Regions from separate parts of the Homo sapiens genome. Here region 2 is linked to region 1. Evidence: promoter capture Hi-C in human tissues and cell types (Jung and others, 2019). All regions are on one chromosome and are shown on one strand. The core of a region is centred on a gene start or on the middle of the fragment in contact, and the rest is flanking DNA. Distances in the headings are between cores, read along the strand shown. Region 1 holds the start of FAM216B (family with sequence similarity 216 member B). Region 2 overlaps LOC124903164.

The links. The method cuts DNA at HindIII sites, captures the fragments that hold promoters and counts their contacts. A contact is called where the count stands out against the background at its distance.
Region 2: a fragment that was not itself captured here is called in contact with the fragment with the promoter of FAM216B in region 1 in 3 of the 25 tissues and cell types used here (H1 embryonic stem cells, aorta and ovary).

Annotation. Positions count from the first base shown.
Region 1 is chr13:42,778,546-42,784,523 of GRCh38, reverse strand. FAM216B (family with sequence similarity 216 member B) reads right to left here and starts at 2,940. Exons shown (of 4, transcript NM_001318932.2): 1 at 2,860-2,940; 2 at 358-470. The coding sequence starts at 456. The HindIII fragment of the contact is 10,798 bases long and covers 1-5,978 here.
Region 2 is chr13:42,737,961-42,743,938 of GRCh38, reverse strand. LOC124903164 reads left to right here. Exons shown (of 3, transcript XM_047430822.1): 1 at 1-662. The coding sequence starts at 533. Among named protein-coding and RNA genes, the nearest start is that of FAM216B, 41 kb to the left of the region's middle. The HindIII fragment of the contact is 4,084 bases long and covers 1,662-5,745 here.

The DNA.
Region 1 (5,978 bases), core at 1,691-4,190:
TTTTACAGCGTATTTATGAGAATGGCTTTAACTAACTTTGACCAAAAGGAACTAACAGCTCTCCAACAGGGAGCCATAGTGTGGCCAATTAGTGAGTTTCCCATCACTGACAGTGGGTCAGCCACGAAGAGGTGACCGTCTACCAGAGCTCCTGAAATGGGACGAGTGTAGGAGGTTACCCAAGTGCTCATTCGTTCACTCATGAATGGCCTTCAACATGCAGCAAGGGCTTATTATGCGGCCAATATTCTTCTTAATGCTAGGTAAACAAAGACAGCAGAAAAAGTCCTCAAACCTTGAAGGAGAGACAGACAGGTCACTCTATCTGTGAAAAAAAAAAAAAAAAAAAAGCCATACCTTTAGTAAGGAAGTGTCATAGATGGAGGGAGGAACTCGAATAAAAGGAAGTTGTGGAACATTCCAAAGCTTTTGTTGTCTTTTCCAGTTTTGTCCCATCGTTTATCCTATACCTCCAAGAAACAACAAAGCATAGCATAAAATTTCTTTTAGCTCAACCAATTTTGGGGATGTACTTAAGTAAATAAGTAAGCAAGTAAATGAATTTTTAAAAATGTAATTTGTTCTAAGGGATAAGAACATTTGCTCACATTTCCAAGTAATTGGACATCACCAGACTACTTAATTCCACACATTTTCCTATTCTCACCCTTTATATATAAAAATAATTATTAATTATTTGTGAAGTTAAGGAATAATTCAGAGCCCTTGTCTTTCTAACTGTTTGGAACAGGTGTGTTGTAGAGCATACTATTTTTATAGTAGTAATTTTTTGATAATTTTAAATAATATTGATTTTCATATCTGATTCTAAAAGTAATATATATTGTTTTGGAAGATTTGGAAAAATTTAAAAATTGAAGAAGAAAATAAGATTACTCATACAAGTTGAGCATCCCAAATCTAAAAGCCCAAAATCTGAAAAGCTCCAAATCCAAAACTTTTTTAGTGCCCACAAGATGCTTAAAGGATATGTTCATTGGAGCATATTGGATTTTGGATTTTTGAATTTGGGAGGCTCAACTGGCAAAGATAATGTAAATTTTCCAGAATCAAAAAAAAAAAATCTGGAATTCAAAACACTTCTGGTCCCAAGCATTTTGGATAAGGCATACTCAACTTGCATCTAACTATCCATAATTATTGTTAGCATTTGGTTGATTTCCTTTTATTTGTTTATTTATTTATATGTTTTTTTGAGACAGAGTCTCACTCTATCATCCAGGCTGGAGCACAGTGGTGCGACTATAGCTCACCGCAGTCTTGAACTCCTGGGCTCAAGCCATCCTCCCACCTCAGCCTCCTGAGTAGCTGGGACTACAGGTACACACCCCACACCCAATTATTTTTTAAATTGTTAGTAGAGATAAGATCTCCCTATGTTCCCTGGGCTGGTCTCAAACTCCTGGGCTCAAGTTATCCTGCACCTCAGGCTCCCAAAGTGCTGGGATTACAGGTATGAGGCACCATGCTGAGCTTCACTTTCCTTTTATTTATTTATTTTTTTTTTCTGTGTACATTGTGTGTAATTTTAGAAAAGGGAGATCATAATTTATACATTTTGTGCACTTTCTCAGATCATTAAATATTCCTTAAAAATATGATTTTTAGTGGCAGTGTAGTATGCCTTTACGTCATTCTCCACTTCTTGCAATTTAGATGTGCAATTTTATAGCATTGTACTATAAAACTATTAAACTTGTCATGTTTCCACTTGCCTGAGAAAGATACAGAATAATAGAGTCACATTTGCTATGATTAAGTCTCCTTTCCTGGTGATTTAGGGTTTAGAGTCTGAAGTGTGTATAATAATATGAATTTAACAATCCAGCAAGAATAGACATATTGGAATAGGTTGCCAAATCACAAAGTGCAAACCCAGAGTATTTTCCCCTCTGCTTACTCCTTTGTCTTTGTTAGCAGTGTGAATTACTGAATGATAGAAAGTAAGACCACAGCAAATCAAACATAGTAACAATCTGCTAAACGTAGATTATTATTAATACCTGCACGTATATTAACTGAAGAAAATAAACTGTAATAGAGGCTGTATGGCCTTTAGAACTAGAAAGACTTGAGTTTCTTTCCTTCTGTAAGCCTCAGCCCTCTCATCCTTAAGACAGCAGTTACAATGCCTACCTCACTGGGTGTTTGATTCACTGAAATCGTGAATATAGAATGCTCTCACTTTATGCCAGTTTCTTCTCTCTCTACCCGACCTTCACGCATGTTCATGCACACAAACACATGCACACTCATAGGTTCATAAACATACACATGCTTAAGGAGTATTGTAATACATGTGGAGACTGATTTGAGTTCACACATCGAAGGTTCCATTCTTCCAGAAGAGAAATTTATTAGGAAAACATTAGTCAACATCTCTGTGTGTACTGTTTCTGCTATATAAATGTCTAAATTAAACTGTAAATATTTTAGTCAGTACTGCTTTCCTTTAATGTGCACTCCAGAAACCATACCAACCAAGATATACTCCTGTAATATTCTCTGTGATTGACACCTACGCTCTATCCTGTACTCAAATCATTTCAATATCCCTCCTCCCATTTTCCAGATCTGTAGAACAGAGAATAAATATGCTTCAAGCTGGAAAGATTTCTTCTCTCCTCAAATAGCATAAAGAAATGACTGATGCTCTTTCTTATGGCAACAATTCATGTGTGCTTTTCTGGGGCTACTGCTGAATAAATTTATCTTACCTATTCAAGTGGCCTATACCTGATAAAATTTGATTAAAATACTCATGGAATTCAGGGAGAGAAACATCTACAAAATAATATATCTGAAACAAAAAGACAGATTTGCCTAAAAAGAACTTACCCTATACTGTAGTTCCCCCACTTTTAAAAGCTGCCATTCCTATTCAGTGTAGTTTTCTTACGCGGACTCTGTTTATATGCTGGTGGTGGTGGTGGAAGTCTGTTGATAAGCTGATATCCAAGCAACATCATGTGATGAAACAAAGAGCTGGGGAAATCTGGCTGCATGCCTTTCTTCACTTCTGGGTAACATTCAGCTACACAGTTTGATATTTTTTCTTCCACATTTTGTGTCTAATCAAGTGTCATCTTCTAAATCTACCATATCTGTGTTACATGCAGATATCGGGGGTAACATGCATAGAGGCAGAGATTCTAAATATTAAAGGTCAACAAATCCATCAGGGCAATGGGCCATGACATAAATATTTCCAAAATTTGGAGTCAGTAGTCCCCTTCCTCATTGCTCAGGATGATGAAGGAAGAGTTCCTGAATATAGAGGTATGGGCATGAATTTGCCTGTGGTAACCTATGAAATTATTCCATAGTTTAAGCTAAGTTCCCTTTCATTTTGTGGGGGAATAAGATATTCTCCATATTTTATCTTAATTAGAGGCTACATATGATGATAATTAACCTGTGGCGTAAGACTAGAGCCCACACTGACCTCATCCTTTCTTCTGTGATAGCATTATTCTACTGGCTTCCTTTCTTTCTCAAGTGTCCTCCTTCTGAATGCCAGCTTATCTGCAAAGATGAAGAGTTCCTAAAGAAAAGGGAAGAAGAAATATCAAAAGAAAATACATTCAAAATTCTTAGGAGACTAAGGGGAAGAAAAAAGCAGGGAGATGAGAGTGATGAATCATATGCCTTAAAGAAGAAAGGGCTCAACAGATGCAAAAGTCTTGCATTTTTTCCCCAGTAATTTGAATGCAGACCTCCTGGGAAATAAGCACAGCACAAACAAGTGTCTTTAAATGCCAGTAAATAACATAAAATCTTTCACTGGATCTGAGAGGTTGATGATTCTTTACCAAGAGATAAAGAACAGTGGTGTGCAGAGTTGACATTGTCAATCGAGTCTTCCTCAAACGTTTTTCCAGGATATGATGAAATTCATTCTGGGTGCACTGCATCTGCTGATGTTGCACACACATGCTGAAATTCCTACCAGCTTGCCTTGGACGCTACTCAATCAGGAGAACAGTAACAGATCTGTGTTTGACAGAGGGCATTTAATGTAAGGAATCTGTTATGAAAATATAGAAATGGGTTAGAGGAGTAAAACAAGAAGGGTTAGGTTATCCAAGGACTGGCAATTGCACTAAACTGTGATTGCACATAGAGCTGGAGGACAATAGGGAAAATGATTTTACCCACAGCCCATGGACACTGTGCCATAGAGGCTGCTTCCTTTGGAGAACTGCTGCCTGAGCAGCGCCTCAGGAACCTGTGCTCACCAGGCACCCTTGCTTCTATGTTCTTGCCCAAACTGCTAATCTTGCTGTTGCTGTCACCACTGTTGCTGTCCATGTGGCTGCTGCTGCTGGCACTGCCACAGGTGCAAGCAGAAAGTATTTTTAAAAAATGGCTTCTTCCCTCCAGCCTTCATTCATGTCCTGCCCTCCATTGGATGCCAGCTAGCAAGGGATTTTGGGAAATGTATTTTGCAGTCTTCCTACTACTCTGATAAACAGAAGGGTATAGAAGAATCAACATGAGGCCGACAGATGGTGGACACTCTCTAACACAAACACAAATCTAAGAGGTACCTTTGGGACCTATGAAGTCAGGCAGGAGGATGAAGGACTTAGACATACAGTCAATGTTTACCTAACATCACTGAAAGTTGTCAATTTATAAGAAAAGAGGAAATAAGATAAAACTAGCTATGTAGATGGTATCAAAGAATGAGATCTAAATTTGTAGACATATTTTAAAATATAAGAATGAGGGAGTAATGCATATCCTAAGTTTGGGACAAAAAATGTTTTCCCAAAGACTAGTTTAACATTTCAAAAAGGATTTAAACTGATTACAAAAAAAATGGGAAAGAAACACCCATAATCTAATTACTATAGGGAATACAATGTCAACTATTAGTAGAAAAGTTGTACTATTTCACAGTTAAAATATTGGTACAGCAATGAGACTCACTGCTTAAGACATTGGCTGTTTAGAAGGTGGGTGATAAAGTGTTTTCATGGAATATCAGGGTAAATGTGACCTCATGAGTGATACCAAGTGAGGAAGAGGGACTCCTGATTGGAATCCAAGATGAAGTTAAACTCTAATTCAAAGAAACCCACCTGCTAGAGGGAGAGTGCCACTGTACATCATGGAGGTACACACTTTCCCGAAAAACTATGAACCCGGAAGGAAATGCTCTGCTCACATCCTTTTGCCAGGATCCTCTTAGCTGCAGAGATGTCTGTGAGGTTGTCTCTGCCAGGCACAGACATGCTGCTTGACTATCCAAGCCCTCAGAGGACCTCCATGCTCCTTAAGGAAGAGAAGGCAGTGTCCCTCTCCCCACTCTACTGCTGTTTATCCCCTGGACTCTACTTAGTCTTCTAGAGTCTTGGTTGAATTTCATTTCCCATTGAGCTATGTAGTCCCTTGAGCTCAAATTTTTTGGTGGGGGAAGAGGAGTTAGTTATTCCTAATTATCTTGTTTTTTCTTTGACCTCTTCATAGAAAACCCCTACTTTTCTGAGATTCCAAAACAAAAGCTGTCATATACACCAAACCTATAGGAGCCACTGGTCACAAAAATAGGGATATTTAGAGTCAGTCTTAGTTTGGATTATAAGAACCACTTTTAGTGAGTGAAAACTACTTGGGACACTTAGAAGCAGTGATTATCGGCAAAAGAAAAACTGGATGTGGTCAGATACGTGCTAAGACTTTGGAAAAACAGATTTCAAACAATTCGGGAAAAAAGTCTAAAGTGGACTTGAGAAGGGAATATCCAGAGATTTAGTTTCAACCCTATAATCTCAAATAAAATCTATAGAAGAAAGAGATAAGATATCAAAAGATTTGCATTTCTCTGATGGCCAGTGATGATGAGCATTTTTTCATGTGTTTTTTGGCTGCATAAATGTCTTCTTTTGAGAAGTGTCTGTTCATGTCCTTCGCCCACTTTTTGATGGGGTTGTTTGTTTTTTTCTTGTAAA
Region 2 (5,978 bases), core at 2,454-4,953, 41 kb after region 1:
CCTGCAAGACGCCTCTAAGAGCTATAAAATCTTTCCCTCCCTTCTCTCCAACAGTCACAGACAGAGATTGGCACTTCCTACAAGGCAGGCTTTCCATCATGTAGTTTGTAGATTGTGTAAGTGGTTCTGAGATGTGAAATGCTCTAAATCTCATTTCCCCATCATTTTCCAAAAGTATTTTTCTAGGTGAGATTTCTATCTCATAGATGGCATTGATATCTCAATGCAAGGACAGGAGCAACTCATGCTGCCTGCTTTGACCACCCTCCCCCACACTTCATCACCATCCCTGCCTAACCCCTGGAGCAACTGTCCCTAAAGGGCCATGGTGGTGGGGCCCCTGGCCTCAGAGCCTCCCCGCGTCCCCAGGCAGCTGTGGCAGAGCCCTGAACATCACTCCTTCGGTGATCCTTGGTCTCTCCTTCTCACCTGTATGGGAAAAGAGACTTGGGCTGAGAAATGCATTCAGATTTTTTCTGGCCTGTGGACTGTTTTCTTTCTATGGTCTGAGTGTGTAGAGTGAGCAGAAACTATGAAGAGCCATGAGCAGTTCCGGGGGAGCAGCTGCGAGCATCATGGAAGGCCTCTGCCCTGTCGGAGAAGCCGGGATCCTCTTCAGCTTGGACACTACATCAGTGACACTGGCATCTCCCCCATGCCAGGTAAAGTGGGGTGGGACCACAGGGAAGGCCGCCCTCTCCCATGCCACATCCAGGAATGTGTGTTTGGTCCCTGCTGTATACAAAGGGAGATTAGGACTAGGGGATTTGAATCTTTCAATGTTCAAGAACTTTGGAGATTATTTAATCCAGTGGTTTGCAAATGTCTTTTAGCTGTCCTTTAGCTGCAAATGTCCTTTTGCTCAGGGAAAACTATTTCAGAAGCACATTTTTGCAAGCAAAGGCAGATGTGTCTGGTTGAAGCAGCAGTAGGCTTTGGAGATAGAGATACTCACAGGCTAAAGAGGTGGGTGGGAGTAGCCTCATGAATGATTCTGCTTCCTCTTTAGGATTTTCTTTAAAATAACATCACTGCAGCTTTCAGTTAAGCCCTGGACGCTGTTCACTTAGGCCTGAGCCCAGACCCTCCAGAGCCACACAGTCCAATATGGTAGCCACTCTTGTTTTATATTTTATTTAATTTTAATTAATTTAAAGTAAGATAGCTCTATGTGAGTTAAAAATCTTTTAAATTCAGTTTCTCACACACATTATACACAATTCTAGGACCCAATAGCCATAAGTGATGAGTGGTTACCCATCAGGCAGCGTGGATATCGAACATTTCCATCATTGCAGAAAGCTCTGTTGGACAGAAGTTCTGTTGAACAGCCTCACTTTAGAGTCTAGAATTTCCTTAAGGGGACCCTGGATTCTCTTGGGCTCTGGGAAACACAGTTAGAAAAGCACTGGTAGAATCTAACACCTGAACGAGAAGAGAAGTCCACAGAAGCAGCGTGGTTTGCCAGCCACGTGGCAGGTTATTGAAGAACTAGAGCTACACCTCAGCTCTCCCACTCCACCCTACTGCACTTCTGCCTGACCCCAACCCCTAACCTAACTGTTCTCTGTTGCCTCTCCAGAATTGCCGTCCACGCTAAGCCTTTTGCCCACATCTCTACTGTTTAGAGACGGAACTGAGGTCTCAGACATCTCTGAGGTTTGAGAAGGGACATTAAATTTTATACATGTGCAATCAGCTTCAGGCACTTAATAGAGACATTTAAACTCACATCAGGCCCAAGCAGATGTAGAGGGAAATACTGTCAATTAGTGAGTGGCTAATTAATCTTTCTTTGCCACATATACTCTGGCAGGGTCTAGAAAGTGCTGTTTTGCTCAGAGCTGCAGGAGCACTTGCTATGGAAACAGTGCATGATTATAATATTGATTTCTCAACTTTGTGCAGAAGCCGGCAGTGGAGGGCAGATCTTGCCAGGAGTCACCCCACAGTTAGAAAGGAAAGGGATGAGAAAGTAGAAAAATAGCTTAATTAGTGAACCAGGGCATTTTGGGTTTTCTGCTTTGCATAGAATATGCATATTTTATCCTCATAGCATCTCCCAATTTAGGTATTTAAAAGTGATTTCCTAATCACATCTTGTTATTTTTCAATCTATGTATTATCATGTTTTTTTGCAATACACAGGTGTCCAGATTAATCAGGAGACCATTGTAGATGAGGCATCGCTCTAGGACCTGGTACCTGCTTGTGCTTTGTCCAGAACTGAGCTCAGAACTTGCCCAGTTCTACCACATGTCTGAAAACTTCTTCCTTCCTGTCCACATCATTCCGTAGTTGTCTCTGAGATATGTCTATTTACAAGAAGATACTCTGAAAAGGGCCAAGTCAGAAATGACATCTTGATGTATCCAGCCAGCCAGCAGTCTCAGTAGCCACTAAAAAATTAGGTCAGTAGTTAAAAATACTTTTACAAAGAAAAGCCCAGGCTTGGATAGTTTTATAAGAATTACACCAAACATTCAAGGAATAGTTAATAGTTCATTCAAATCTTATACAAATTCTTTCAGATAATAAAAAAAGAAAAAGAAAAACTCCTTAGCAAATATGTGAGATAAATATAAACACAATATGAAATTCACATAGAGATAATTCGAGACAGGAAAAATGATTTACTCATGAACATAAATGCAAAAATCCTTTAAAAATATTGGCAAACTGAATCCAAGAATATGTGAAAAATATAACACACCATGATAAATTTGCATCATCCTATAAATGCAAAATATATTTTGTATTAAAAAATCTAGTTTAGTTCATGAAATTAACAAATTAAATAATTATTTCAATACTATTAGATAAACTTTAAACATATGTGGTCTCCTAGCTCTCCAAAGACCTCATACTAAAATAATAGTTCTTCTTAATAGAAGGAGCAAGGAATTATTGTTCCCAAATGTTTTTACACACCTCCCCGCTATGAGAGAAGTGTACTTCCTGGTTGGCTGACATCCAGCCTGGGCCATGTGACTTGCTCTGCCAGGAGTAGCAGGAAAGCAGAAATGATGTCTATTAAGTCTTGAAAGAGGCTTTAAGAGCTAATACACTCTTCTCCCACATCCCCTCCTCAAGGGTCTCACTCCTAAATAAATGTTACTTTTTCAACTTCCATCCCAGAATAAAAAAGCATGTGGAGCAGAAATGGAACAGAGTAGAGGCCAGCTCAGTTTCCATGTTATAAAACCAAATAGACATCTTTGTTGCAGTAAGCCCCCATGATCTGGATGTTGTTTGCTATCACAATATAACTTACTCTGTGATGATTGCTATTTTAAAAAGAGTACCTACCAAAAATTTGTAGCGCAAACCATACTTACTAATAAAAAATTAACCTTACTCCCTTTAAAATAAAAAACAACAGTGATGCCTTTGATTCAACATTGTGCAGTAAGATAAGGAAAAATAAAATGTAGGAATTATAAAAGGAAATACTAAGCTTTGGTTATTTGCAGGTAATATGATTGTTTATATAGAAACTCCTCAAGAATATGGACATAATTTAACAAAACAGAGCACCTAAAATACCAACAAAATCATAATACATCCAGGAATAAATCTAACAAAATTTGTGCAAGACTTCTTTGAAATTATATATGTTATTAAAATACATTAAAGTAAACGTAAATAAATGCATATATTATTTATCTATTTATTTATTTATTATTATTATTTTTTTTTGAGATGAGGTCTCACTATGTTGCCCAGGTTGGTCTCGAACTCCTGGGCTCAAGTGATCTGTTCACCTTGGCCTCCCAAAATGCTGGGATTACAAGCATGAGCCACCACACCTGGCCTTATATTTATTTTGTATACATATAATATTTGTGATAGAAGGACACAATATATTAAAAGTTTGGTCATTCTCTTCAAATTGCTCTATAAATAAAATGCAATTCCTTTCAAATTCAATCCAGAGCTGTTTGCAGAACTTGATAAGCAGATTCTAAAATTTTTATGGAAAAATGAAGCACAAGAATAGCTGAAACACCCCTGTAGAGGATGAACAGGATGAGGCGAGCTGTTTTGCCAGTTTTCATTGCCCTGTGTATATAATAAAGCTTTGATTAATTAAGAGAGCATAATATGGCACAGGAACATAGGATAGACCAGTGGATCAGCACAGAGCGTGTAGAAACAAGCCCACACATAAAATGAAATCTAGTATATAACTGGAATGTCACTGCGGATCAGTAAGAATGGGTTGCTCAATAAATGATGCTATGATCATTTGTTTTCTATATGGACAACAACAACACAAAAAAGAATACACAAAAATAAATAAAAGGGAAAAAGATTTAGATATGGAAACCACAAACTTAAGACTTTGGGGAAAAATATAGAATATTTCTATGATCTTGGAGCAGGAAAAAAATGATGAAAACAAGACCCGAAAAGCACAAATATAAATGAAAAGATAAGAAAGTTAACTGAGTTAAAATTAATAACACTTCTTAATCAAAAGATTCCTAAATGCAAAGATAAGCAAAAAGGAAAAGTCTGCCTCCCCCAAAAGCAGTGGTAAAACATAGGAATAAACACTTCACAGAAGAGTCAGCCCAAATAGCTATTAAATAAATGAAAAATGTTCAACCTTTTAAATAATGAAGATGTTGCAAGATAAAACCACAATAAGTTAAAGTTTTATACTAAAATGTTGGTAAGGATGGAGATCACTGCAAAACAAACTGTATATATATATATATATATATATATATATATATATATATATATATATATATATATGCTATGTAGCTTTCTACAACCACTCTGTATAACAATTTGGTCATAGTAAAGTAAAAATATGCATATCCTATGACCAGGAAATCTCACACACACACACACACAAAATGCACATGCTTATGTGTACACACAATCCCTAAAAATACCCTTGAACAGGGGCACCCAGAGATATGTACAAGTATATTCATAGAACCATTATGTGTGCTTAGCTACTATTACAACCATTAACACGGTTGAAGCCCGCAAACAAAAAATTAATGAAAAAGCAAGATGCAGGATACACATACTATGGTTTATATAAAGATCAAAAAATAACAAAAGTATACTGCATATGGTTGAGAATAGCCAGGGCTGACTATATAATTTTTAGGCTCAGGGCAAAATGAAAATGTGGGATCCCTTTGTTCCAAAAGCAGGGGAAAAGCTTTTATCTTTCTTTCATGGTCTATCTCTGTAGGATAATGGCCATAGTATCTTGATAATTCATAGAAAAAAAAACTATATTAACTCTAAACATTTGAAAAAGCACTCAACTTACAAAATACACAAAGAAACCATTTTTAACCCATTGGATTGACAAATAGAAAAAATTGATAACACACTCTCTTACCAAGACACTCTCAAATAGTGCTAATGGAGAAATGAAAGGACACAGCCATTTTCAATAATAATTTGTCAATATCTTTCAAAATTTCACATCAAATACTCTTTGATTCTATGGGAACTTCTCCTATATGTTTGAAATTATACATGTAAAAGGATGTTAATTGCAGCATTTTATAATTCCAAAAGATTGGAAATACCCTAACTAGCCTAAAGCAAGAGAGAGGTCATATCTGGGTCTTTGGAAGGATAATGGAATGATATGTTATGCAACCATTAAAATATTGAGGTAGGTCTGTCTGTGCTAATAAATGATCACCAACATATATTGTTGAGTGAAAAAATAAAAAGAATTCTTTGCAAAAGAATATGACTAATATGGTATCATATTTGTTGGAGAGTAAAGAGTGAGGGGAGAGACAGACAGAGAATATATATTTGTTCATATATGTGTACTATGGTTTGATGTTTGTGACTCTCCAAATTCATGCTGGAAGTCCCCAGTGCAACACTATTAAGAGGTGGGTCCTTTAGGAGATGACTTATTAAAGATTAGTGTGCCTATGAAAGTGATTGAGGGAGAGAGTTCACCCTTTTTGCCCTTCTACCATATG